Regions from separate parts of the Homo sapiens genome. Here region 1 is linked to region 2. The links are contacts of gene promoters, found by promoter capture Hi-C in human tissues and cell types (Jung and others, 2019). All regions are on one chromosome and are shown on one strand. Each heading gives the region's core, a stretch centred on a gene start or on the middle of the fragment in contact. The rest is flanking DNA. Distances are from core to core; before and after follow the strand shown. Region 1 holds the start of LFNG (LFNG O-fucosylpeptide 3-beta-N-acetylglucosaminyltransferase). Region 2 holds the start of INTS1 (integrator complex subunit 1).

Region 1 (4,633 bases), core at 1-2,500, 1.0 Mb after region 2:
ACTATGTCCCAAAACCTGTTCCAGGTCTGAATGACACCAGGTCGCTGCTGTCTTGCGGCTGACATTCAGGTAGAGGTAAGGAGAGGGGCTCCAAGGGCACTTAAAGAATTTAAAATGCCATCTCAGGCGTGAACATAACTCCGAGGGGGGCAGTTTAGCCACGGTGGTGGCGGTGGTGGTCGTGGTGGTCGCAGAGACCCTGCTTAGGAGGGCACGGGAAGACAGCGCAGCCACGGGCAGAGCCGCCTCCGTCCACGCTTCCGGAGGACGTGGCGGGCAGGGGGCTCACACCCTGCTCAGGCGACCCTTGGCCACTTCCGGGCCCCTCGCCCCTCACCCTCGGCTGCCGGCGCGCATTCCTGCCGCCCCCGCTCGTGCGAGGGGCGGGCCCGGGCCCGTGGGAAGGGCCGGGGATGGGGGCCGTGTGCCGGGGAGGCGGGGTGGGGAGGGCGCACAGCTGGGCCGCATCTGGCCCGAGCGCAAGGAGACCAAATGGGACAGAAGGCGGCCTTTCATCCGGCGAGGGAAGTGGCGGCCTTCGTTTCTCCTCGCCATGGGGCGCCTGAGGATTTCGGGGAGCCAACCCTCCCGACGGAGGGCCAGGATCGAGGAAATCAGCCAGGGAGGAAGGAGTGGAATTTGGTTCTGGTGCTTTCTCGTTAGAACCTCGTGTCCCCACCTGCGGCACAGGTGGCCAAGCTCTTGCTCTGTACAAATAACGGCTCCCCTGAACCGAGCGCTCGGGAAGACCCAGGCGCCACCCCAGTTTGCAAGGCCTGCCGCGTCCCAAGGGGAGGAAGCCGTGCTCAGGAGGGGAAGCGCACAGCGAGGAAGTAGGATGTCCCCCGCGGTGCGTCGGAGCCCAGAGCCCGGGTCTCAGCACCCTGCCCGCTGCGCCGAGGGCGCGCCCCTCCCGTGCCGGGACGCCCGGTGCATCCCCGGACGGCGCTGGCCAGGCTGGGTTTCCTCTTCAGGGACACCGGCGCGGGCCGGGCCCGTCCCCAAGCCCCTCGGCGGCCCGCAGGGGCTACCCGGGGCGGGGGGGGTGCGGGGCGTGCACGTGCGCGCCGGGGGCGGGGCCGCTGCGCCCTCTGGGCAGTTCCCAGCCCCCAGCCGCGGCCCCACGTGGGTCTGCGGGCGTGGAGCGGCGACCGGCGCGAGGCCCCGCCCCCGAGCCCGGGAGCCAATGAGCGCACGGGGGCGGGACCGGGGCGGGGAGGTTTAAGAGCGCGGGACACTGGTGCTGCGCTGCTGGACTGCGCCGCCGGAGCGACGGGCTTCGGGTCGGTGCAAGGCAGGCGCACGGGGAAGGGCGCGCCGCGCGGCCGCCACCCCACCATGCTCAAGCGCTGCGGCCGGCGCCTGCTGCTGGCGCTGGCGGGCGCGCTGCTCGCCTGCCTGCTGGTGCTCACCGCCGACCCGCCGCCGCCTCCACTGCCCGCCGAGCGCGGCCGGCGCGCGCTGCGCAGCCTGGCGGGCCCCGCGGGGGCTGCCCCGGCGCCCGGGCTGGGGGCGGCGGCGGCGGCGCCCGGGGCGCTGGTCCGCGACGTGCACAGTCTGTCCGAGTACTTCAGCCTGCTCACCCGCGCGCGCAGAGATGCGGGCCCGCCGCCCGGGGCTGCCCCCCGCCCCGCCGACGGCCACCCGCGCCCCCTGGCCGAGCCGCTCGCGCCCCGAGACGTCTTCATCGCTGTCAAGACCACCAAAAAGTTCCACCGCGCGCGCCTCGACCTGCTGCTGGAGACCTGGATCTCGCGCCACAAGGAGATGGTGAGCCCCCCGCGGCCTGGACTGGCGGGCGAGCGGGGCGGGGACCCACCATCTGGTCCAGCTGGTGGCAGTGTCCCATGGGAGTCAGGCTGCATCCCCATCCAGCCACTAGGGCCATCTGTGGGCGACGCCAGTGCACCCCGGTGCACCCAGTTTGCCTGCTGGGGCCACTCTCCCGTTACAGTTGTGTTACTGTCCCCGGGGCCCCGCCTCCTGTCCAGCTCCAGAGTCCTGGATGGCTGCAGGACCCTACACCAGTCTCCAGTGCTTGGGGTTGGTGCCCTGTGATACTTCTCACCCCGTAAACATTGGAGCGCATTCATAGGGCATTATGTCCTCAAACTTCCACAAGCAAATTCTGTTCGGACCCACCCTCAGCTCAGACCCCTTCCTGGGGAGAAAGGCTCTTCCTTTAGAGAAGTGAGGGGTTCTGACCTCTGGGCCCTTTCCTCATCACAGTGTTAAGGTACGGGGAGGGAGGGAAGTCATTGCTGGTTGGTGGGTCCTGGGGAGTACATCTCAAAGAACTCCAGGTTTTGGGGTCTGTGTGGGGACCCTCCCCGCACAGTGCAGTAGTCTCTGAGGCCTGCAACCTTGGGCACAGCCCACTTCAGTTGGGCATCAGCTTCTTACACACACATAATTAAGACACACCCCACTTTGAACATTTCCCTCGAGGCCACAGCAGGACGGTTGGGCTGGGGCGGGATGGGGACAGTGTGTGGGGCTTGCAGTCGGGGACTGGGGGGGTGTCTCTGGGCTGGGAGATGCAGAGGCATTTGCTGTGAGGGTGGGGGCTCAGGGAAGACCCTGCACGCCTTCCTCCCTGCTCAAACCCCGGAGACCCAGGGCCTTCTGACCTGGCGCTGTCCTGTTTTGGGGCACTGTGGGTGGGTGGGAGCAGGGCTTGGTGAGGTCATGAGGGCGACGGGGAGGGGCAGGGTCCTCCCTGGTCCTGGCGTGGGGAAGGGGCCCTGGGAACCCCATGGCAGCCTCCTGGGAACACAGCGTCCCATTCCCAGGGGCTCAGCGGGCTGGCGGGAGGGGGCGGCGGGGGCCGTGGGTTTTGTTTGGCGGCCGGGCCGTTAGGATTCCCAGCGCCGGGCGGCTCTCACGCCGGCCCCTTGGGCAAGGTAACAAAGCCCCTTTCTCCAGCGAGAAAGGCGTCGGGCCCCTTGTGTGCAGCTACGCGCTCCGTGGGAACCGCTGCTGGCGTGCTGGCCACTCAGGTTGCCTGGCGATGAGGGGACCAGCGGGCCCCCCCAGCATCTCTTACTGACAGTCCTTTTGGGGCACCATCCCTGAGCCTGGCCCCCCCACCCCCAGCACTCAAGCCTTACTGCTATGTGATCTTGGGCATCCTTCAGCCCCACTCTGGGCTACCACCAGCTCTGAGCACCTCTCATCTTGGAATTTGGGGCCTTTCTCCAACAGAGGGGATGTGGTCAGAGGGCTGGGCTGTGTGATCCTGAGCAAGACCTGGGGCCTCTCAGACCCTCACTCTGATCTCTGAAATGGGGGAACATGGTCCTTCCAGGAGCACGTTGTAAGAGACTGGCAAAGCCTGCAGGCATGGGGTGAACCCGGCGGGCACTCAGGGTCGAGGTGGGGGCCATCACTCCCTTGAGCCCTGAGGTCCCTACTGGAGGGTCACCCCACCAGGGGACAGGTTGAATCTGCCCTCAGCATCAGTTCACCAGCACACAGCAAGCAAAGACCCCCTTGTGGTGGGTGATGGGCAGGGGTCCTGGAAACCCACAGAAGAGGGCCCCCCTCTCCCAGCCCTGCACGGAATGACTCAGACATGGTCTGATGGGGGAGATAGAAAGATGTCAGGGCTGTGCGGGGGGAAAACCCCGAGAGGCTGTGTGAGGCAACAGTGGGCATCTGACCCACATGCTGGGGGAAGGGAGGGAGGAGGGAAGACTTCCTGGAGGAGGCGCCATTTGAGCTAGACTAAGAGTAAAAAAGTGCCCAGAAAGGGCACTCCATCCGGGCATGGTGATGACCACAGCATGGGGGTTGTGCAGGAAACTTCTAGCAACTGGAGTGGTGGCTGGGGGGAGGGTCGGTTGGTCAGCAGGGGCCGCGCTGAGATGGGCCTGGAGTCCAGGATGAAGAGCCTGGCCTTTGGCCCAGAGGTTCCCCGCCCCTCCCAGGAGCAGCCAGGCTGCCGCGCTGCCACCACAGCGGCCACAATTGCTGGGGAGAACTTGGCATCCTGTGTTTCTTTGAATCGCGGCTCCAGGAACAATGCTGCTTCCTGTGGGTGTCCCCCGGCCCCCGCCCCCGTCCACCCTCATCCACCCGGCTCTTCCTCCTGCAGCCCCGTCTTCGTCTGGAAAGTTAGGTGGCACTGGGGGGTCTGGGTCCCTAGAAGGCAGGGACTGGGCTGGTCTAGCACCGCCTCGGCCCCAGGGTATGACCTCAGGCTGGTGCCTGCACCTCTCTGGGCCTCAGTTTCCCCACTTGGGCCTCAGCTGGTAATGGCACCCACCTCCGAGGGCTGTCAGGGAGAGGAAGGGAGAGAATCTGTCTTTGCACTTTGTTCTCTGCCCAGGGGAGCTCTGTTATGCCCATTTTACTGAAGACGAGACTGAGGCTCTGAGCGGCAGGTGAGGCCTATAGCCCAGCAGCGCCTTTTTCCTCCCCTCCTGGTGGCTCAGGTGTCGGGAGACAGTTCGACCGGCACCCCCGCACCCCATAGCCCCGCCTTCTCAGATGCTGTTCTAGAGGCCTCCCTGCTCCCTGAGCTGAACAAAGGTGACTTTAATCTCCGTAGCCTTGGGCTGGGTTTTTAGGGCACCACCAAATCTCGGGAGAACAGGCCTCCCTTGATCTCATTAAGAAAGCATTTTCCTTT
Region 2 (6,325 bases), core at 2,068-4,567:
GTCAGGAAATCGAGACCAGCCTGGCCAATACAGTGAAACCCTGTCTCTACTAGAAATACACAAATTAGCCAGGCGTGGTGGTGCATGCCTGTAATCCCAGCTGCTTGGGAGGCTAAGGCAGGAGAATCATGTGAACCCGGGAGGCGGAGGCTGAAGTGAGCCGAGATCGTGCCACTGCATTCCAGCCTGGGGAACACAGCGAGACTCTGTCTCAAAAAAAAATAAATAAATAAATAAATAATAAATAATAAGTAAATACATATCCACACACATGTGGACAGAGGCATTGTGATCTACCTTAACTGCGCCCGGGACAGAGACTTGGAATAAATTTCCTGATGCCGAGACAAGCTGGGGGACAAGTGGGCTGCCAGCATGGAGGGACAGCCTGGGACATTTACCACAAATGGCTGGATGCAGCCATCTCTCTGTTTTGCTGAGAATAATACTATAAAGTGATCTACCACTCAGAATACGCTTTTCATAACCACGTCTCCTCTCATCTTCAAAACCTCCTTTCTACAGGAGGTAGTGCTAAAGATAAATAAAGCACCGAGCCGCCGGCGGCCGAGAGCCCGGGCCAGGATGAGGCCTGTGGTCTCTGTCTTCAATCCCCACCGGCACCAGCTGCCCAGGGACACGCCTCATGGGAGGTCTGAGGCTCGACCTCCTAAAGCAGTCCCCCAGCTGTGCCATCCTGGGCCGTTTGCCCCCAGGGCTCCCTGATGCCAACTGAGTCCAGCACAAACACTGCCCACAGCGCCCAGCCTCAGCTCTCATGAGCGTGTGCTGCCCAGGCCAGGCCAGGCCTCCATTCCCTGGGCACAGTCCATTCTCTGCTTGGCATCTCCCTTTCCTGCCTGCCCCGGTTTCATCGCCTGTGCTTCCAGGCCCAAGCCCATACTGCAACTCCCTGCCAGGCCTCCTCCCTTCCAGGGCCGTCGGGGACTCACTCACAGGCTTGCACTGCAGCAGCCTGGTCCCTCCCTGAGGGCAAGGCCACAGCCCACAAGTCCCCTGGGTCCTGTCTGGCACAAAACTCAGTAACCAGAGGTGGCGCGGCTTGAACAGACACCTCACTACCAAAGTCATCAGGACACTTGTTCTTTTTGACTCCTACAAAGAAATTACCCAAAAGAGATGCTCCCACAGAAACAAAACACTGCAGACCATGAGGCTTGCTGGGGCTGGTGCGATAGCTGCCAGAGCGACTCCCAGGGAGTCACGGAGCCTTGAGAAATGGTCGTTGGGAAAATGGCGCAGAGGGGCAGGGGCGATTCTAGGCACACAGTTAAAGGCATTTCTGCGAGAACGGGACAGTGGTGAAGCTTACATTCCCCCGTTGATGTCCTTACTGTTCTGCTGCTTTTCAACTGAAAACAGGGAGGGGATCAACTCTTCTCTGTTGGTAACCAGGAGGGAAGGAGGAACCAAGTACACATCGCCTCCGCTCAGGTTGAGAGAGGAACGCACCAGGATGGGCAACCTTGAGAACAGACACCTGGGGTGTCGTCACGCCCGGTTTACCCCCAGGGCTCAGACAGTGCCCGTCACAAAGGGGGCGTCCAACAGACACATGAGACAAACAACTCAATAAGGGAGTGACCCGGTTCTCAAAGGGCAGCCACTGGCAGTGCAGGACGCAGATGCACACACGGGATAAGGGCATCTACGTGAGAAGCACTTCCAAGAACAAGCCACAAACATCCGCTCTCCCAAAGGACCTCGGCCATACGGGCAGCACTAGGCCTGGAGGGGGCCTTCCCTGAACACCTGATGGACGGCATGAGCTGAGGGGTGTTCTCGGGGGATGTCCACAGACTCATTACCTTCAATTGGCACCACAGATGGCTCTTTAATCGACGGAGAAATGGCTCGTTTTTCTGCCACTGCAGCCTCAGCCAGGCGCCCCAGGGCACTCAGAGGGGGTGTGGAGGAGAGTTTGGGGCGTTTGGTGAGACCGGTGAGGGCCGAGGCACTGGACAACGCGGCCGCCGCATCCCGCTTGCGCTCAGAAGGCAGGCCGGAAGGGGCTGGCTTCAGCAGGGTGGACGCCGTTTTCGATTCATTGGCCTGACCCTTTGAGCCCAGAGCAATGAAGTCTCCTGGGGGAGGGTGCCCTGCAGAGAAAGGAGAGAGAAAACCGGGCACATTTGCAACACCCAAGATGGAAAAAGACTGACTCTAACCTCCTGTTATGTCAGAGGGGATTAAACAAGGGTCAGAGGAGGCAAGGAAGAAGCCAGAGCTCACTCAGCAGCCTACAGCAGAGCTGGGACCAGCAGGATACGCACAGGTGATGGTGGACAGTCACGTAGCGCTAACCACAAACCAGGCCATCTCTGGTCTATCCAAATTAGTGTGCTTAGTAACCCCCGCCCCGAGTTTCCGCAATAGGTGCTATTACTCTAACTTTACAAGAGAGAAAGGGACACAGAGAGGTTAAGCGACGTGCCCAGCGTCACACAGCAGGCGAGTGGCAAAGTCCGGAGGATCTGAGCCGACAGTTCAGCCGCAGACCCCGTGCTACGCTACACTGTGCTGCCTCCCGCCTCCTGGCTGGGGAGACCTTCCGCTACTGTCGGCCGCCTTGCAGCTCAGCCTGAAACGAGATCACCGGGGTCCCGAAGGAAGTCGCCACTGTCCCAAGCCTCCCAGGGACTCTCAGAGCCGCTGAGGACCGAGAGCAGTGTTTCCAGACCGAATTCCTGGAAACAGCCGCGGCTGCGGAACAACCAAGCCCAACGCAGGATCCGCGGCAGCTGAGATCCCCAAAGACCCCCAAAGACCCCCAAAGACCCCCGGGCTGCAGAGCGAGGAGGGAGACGCACCTGAGGGTTTGGCCGCGGCGCTGGGCCGGCGCACCGTGGTGGGCTTGGCCCGGTTCATCCTGCCCCGTCCCTCGCGGCTCCCGGCGGCTGCGGCGTCACCTGCGGAGGAGCCAGCGTGCGGTCATTCCTTCACTCATTCGCTCGTTCGCTCGCTCATTCGCTCCCTTGCCGCACGGGGCTTGGGCCTGGGACCCGGGGACAGTGGTCCCGCGCCCGCCCGGCGGGGCGATGCTGCAGGAGCTGCAGGGACCCCGCCTCCCAGCCGCCCGGGAGCGGCTCAGTCGGGCGGCAGCAGGCGACGCGGACGCCGGGCTGGAGGCGGCAGAACCAGAAGGGACGGCCCAGAGGCCGGGAGCGGTAGCCGGGAGAACCAGGCGCTCGCCCGGCAATGAGGAAGCGCCCAGGCCGCGGCTCACTTACCTCTGGCCCATCGCGACCGGAGCGCCGCCGCCGCCACCCGGCCACCCCGGAATCGGAAACCGATCTCACCGCCCTCGAGGACCCGACTTCCGGAACAACCGGAAGGAAAACAGTGCGGCGGGAAGCGGGCCCAGAAGGAGGCGCGAGAGGCCCGCGGCGCCGGCCTGATGCCTGCAGCGCCCCATGGCGGCGGGAGGCGGGCTGGCCGGCGCCGCGCGCATGTGGTCCGGTCCAGGTGGGTCGGCGGCGCGGGGCAGGCGCTGGCCTCTCCATTCACAGGTGGTGCTGGCGTTGCGAAGGGACGCACTCCAGGACGCACGGCGGGGAGGAGTGGCGTCAGGGATCCGCGGATGAGTCAAGTGGCAGGTTCTGCACGTCCCGGAGAGCGGGGGCGGCCGGGGCGCAGGCACTGGCGAGGGGGCGCAGCCCGGGGGGCTCCCGGGGAGAGACCCTGTCTCAAATAATAATAATAATAATAATAATAGCTTTATTGAGATAGAACTCGTGTTCCACAAAGTTCACCCTTTTCTTTTTTCTTTTTTTTTTTGGCACGGAGTCTCGCTCTGTCGCCCAGGCTGGAATGCAGTGGCGCGACCTCGGCTTATTGCAACCTCCACCTCCCAGGTTCAAGCGATTCTCCTGCCTCAGTCTCCCGAGTAGCTGGGATTACAGGCGCCCGCCACCATGTCTGGCTAATTTTTTTGTGTTTTTAGTAGAGACGGGGTTTCACCATGTTGGCCAGGCTGGTCTCGAACTCCTGACCTCAGGTGGTCCGCCCGCCTTGGCCTCCCAAAGTGCTGGAATTACTGCGCCCGCCCCGCCCCCACGCCTTTTTTTTTTTTTTTTTAATGGAAACACTGATGGGAACAAAACTCAAAAGACACAAAAGATCATACAGTTGCCAGGTGTGATGCTCATGCCTGTAATCTCAGCACTTTGGGAGACCAAGGCAGGAGGATCGGTTGAGTTCGAGACCAGCCTGAGCAACATAGCAAGACCCCCATCTCTACAAAAAAATAAAAATTAGCTGGGCATGGTGGCATGAACCTCTAATCCCAGCCCTTTGGGAGGCCAAAGTGGGAGTCTGAGACCAGCCTGGGCAACATAGTGAGACCCTATCTCTACAAACAAAAATCAAGAATAAATTAGCCAGGCATGGTGGTGCATGCCTACGGTCCCAGCTACTGAGGAGGCTGAGGTAGGAGGATCTCTTCAGCTTGGGAGGTCAAGGCTGCAGTAAGCTATGATGGTGCCACTACGCTGCAGCCGGCCGACAGAGCGAGACCCTGTCTAAAAAAAAATAAAAATAAAAGGTGGGGGAATCATCCAGTCAAAGGGTCGAAGGTCTCCCCTGACCCCTGAGCAGCTGGTCCCCTCCCCTGGAGTCAGCCTGTGTTCTGATTTGTGCCTGTGTTCCCGGCTTTTCCGTGTGCGTTCAGGCAGCCACCCGTGTGCCTCCCTCTGCCTTGTCACCCTGCAGGTAGCGCACGGCTCCTCTTTTCTGCACCTGGCTTTTGCCACTTAACCACATCTTGGAGATCTGTTCCCAGCAGGGCACTGACTCGAACGCTGCCCCGCCACCGAGGGAGTCCTGAGCACCGCCTGCCCGGTGTGTCCCATCTCCTCATCCAGGGACCGCAAGGCAGAGCTGGTCTCCCTGTGCCCCTGAAGTTGGGTGTGGCCATTTGACTGTGGCCTCAGTGAGGCTCATGGCCCCAGGCTGCAGCCTGAGAACTGCTGTGTGACCCGCCACGGTCTCTTTCCACTCCTGTGGGCACCAGCTGGGTCCCCGCAGGACCCCAAGGGCTCCAGGGCCCTGCACCCTGCGCTGTGTGGGCAGCGAGTCCGGAAGGAGACGTCCGTGGTGCCCATGGGAGGAGAGGCCGGTCAGGCGCGGATCCCTGCCGGACGCCAGGCGGGGGCTGTGCGGCTTCATCCCTCTACAGTTTCTCAATCTGTCCCTCAGGGTAACTCTCTAAGGGGAGGGGAGATCCGATGGGGTAATGCTTCCTCCTCCTGTCACCTGAATGGGAGCACCCTGCACAGAGCTTCCTCTGCCCCGCCACCTGCCTCTCCTCATCCTCTGACCAGCATCACCGCCCCTGCATGCGGGGCCTGTGCCTTCGGCAAATGCCCTCACCCGGGCCCAGGCCAGAACCTCAGGGTCGACCTTGAGAACAACTACCTCCTCCTCCCCCTCCCCCTCCCCCTCCCCCTCCTCCTCCCCCTCCTCCCCTTCCTTCTTCTCCCCCTCCTCCCCCTCCCCCCTCCTCTCCTCCTCCCCCTCCCCCTCCCCTCCTTCCCCTCCCCCTCCTCCCCCTCCCCCCTCCCCTTCGTTCCCCTTCTTCTCCTCCTCCCCCTCCTCCCCTCCTCCCCCTCCTCCTCCTCCTCCTCCTCCTCCTCCTGTCAACCTTGACCACCTCTTCCCCCTTCTCTCTCCTCCTGCTCCTCGTCTTCCTCGTTCTCTAAAAACTCAGGAGTCAACCTTGACCACCTCCTCCTCCCTCTTCTCTTTCTCCTCCGTCTCCTTCCCCTCTTCCTCTTCCTCCCCCTCCTCTACCTCTTTGCCTTCCTCCTCCCTCTCCCCGCCTCTTTTTGAAAACAGCTTTTTTGAGTTATGATTGACGTCTGATAAACTGCAGGTGTGTAAAGGGTGTAAAGGGTGCACACTGATGCGTGTTGACATTCACACGTACCTGTGGCCCCATCCCCCATCCCTTTCAACCCTGTAACGAACATTCCCAAACCACCCCTGACTTGTCCCCAGGCCGCCAGGGCGCCACTTTCTGTCCCTGGAGAGGCGCTGTTTGCTCTTCTGGAGTCTGTGTGAATGAAAGCACACAGTGCACGCTCCCTGGCCAGCTGCTCGGCGTCATTATTCTTTTTTTTTTTTTGAGATGGAATCTCGTTCTGTCACCCAGGCTGGAGTGCAGTGGCGCGATCTCCGTTCACTGCAACCTCTGCCTCCTGGGTTCACGCCATTCTCCTGCCTCAGCCTCCCGAGTAGCTGGGACTACAGGCGCTGGCCACCACGCCCGGCTAATTTTTTTTTTTTTTTGTATTTTTAGTAGAGG

What was found. The method cuts DNA at HindIII sites, captures the fragments that hold promoters and counts their contacts. A contact is called where the count stands out against the background at its distance.
Region 1: the fragment with the promoter of LFNG here is called in contact with the fragment with the promoter of INTS1 in region 2 in 1 of the 25 tissues and cell types used here (lymphoblastoid cells).

Annotation. Positions count from the first base shown.
Region 1 is chr7:2,518,524-2,523,156 of GRCh38, forward strand. It overlaps LFNG (LFNG O-fucosylpeptide 3-beta-N-acetylglucosaminyltransferase), which reads left to right and starts at 1,251. Exons shown (of 8, transcript NM_001040167.2): 1 at 1,251-1,770. The coding sequence starts at 1,339. RefSeq lists silencers at 777-1,306, 1,317-1,426 and enhancers at 3,358-3,487, 3,528-3,587, 4,454-4,633. The HindIII fragment of the contact is 23,923 bases long and covers 1-4,633 here.
Region 2 is chr7:1,501,072-1,507,396 of GRCh38, forward strand. INTS1 (integrator complex subunit 1) reads right to left here and starts at 3,318. Exons shown (of 48, transcript NM_001080453.3): 1 at 3,252-3,318; 2 at 2,832-2,930; 3 at 1,830-2,120. The coding sequence starts at 2,889. RefSeq lists a silencer at 2,964-3,523 and enhancers at 4,410-5,006, 4,632-4,821, 5,007-5,602. The HindIII fragment of the contact is 17,901 bases long and covers 1-6,325 here.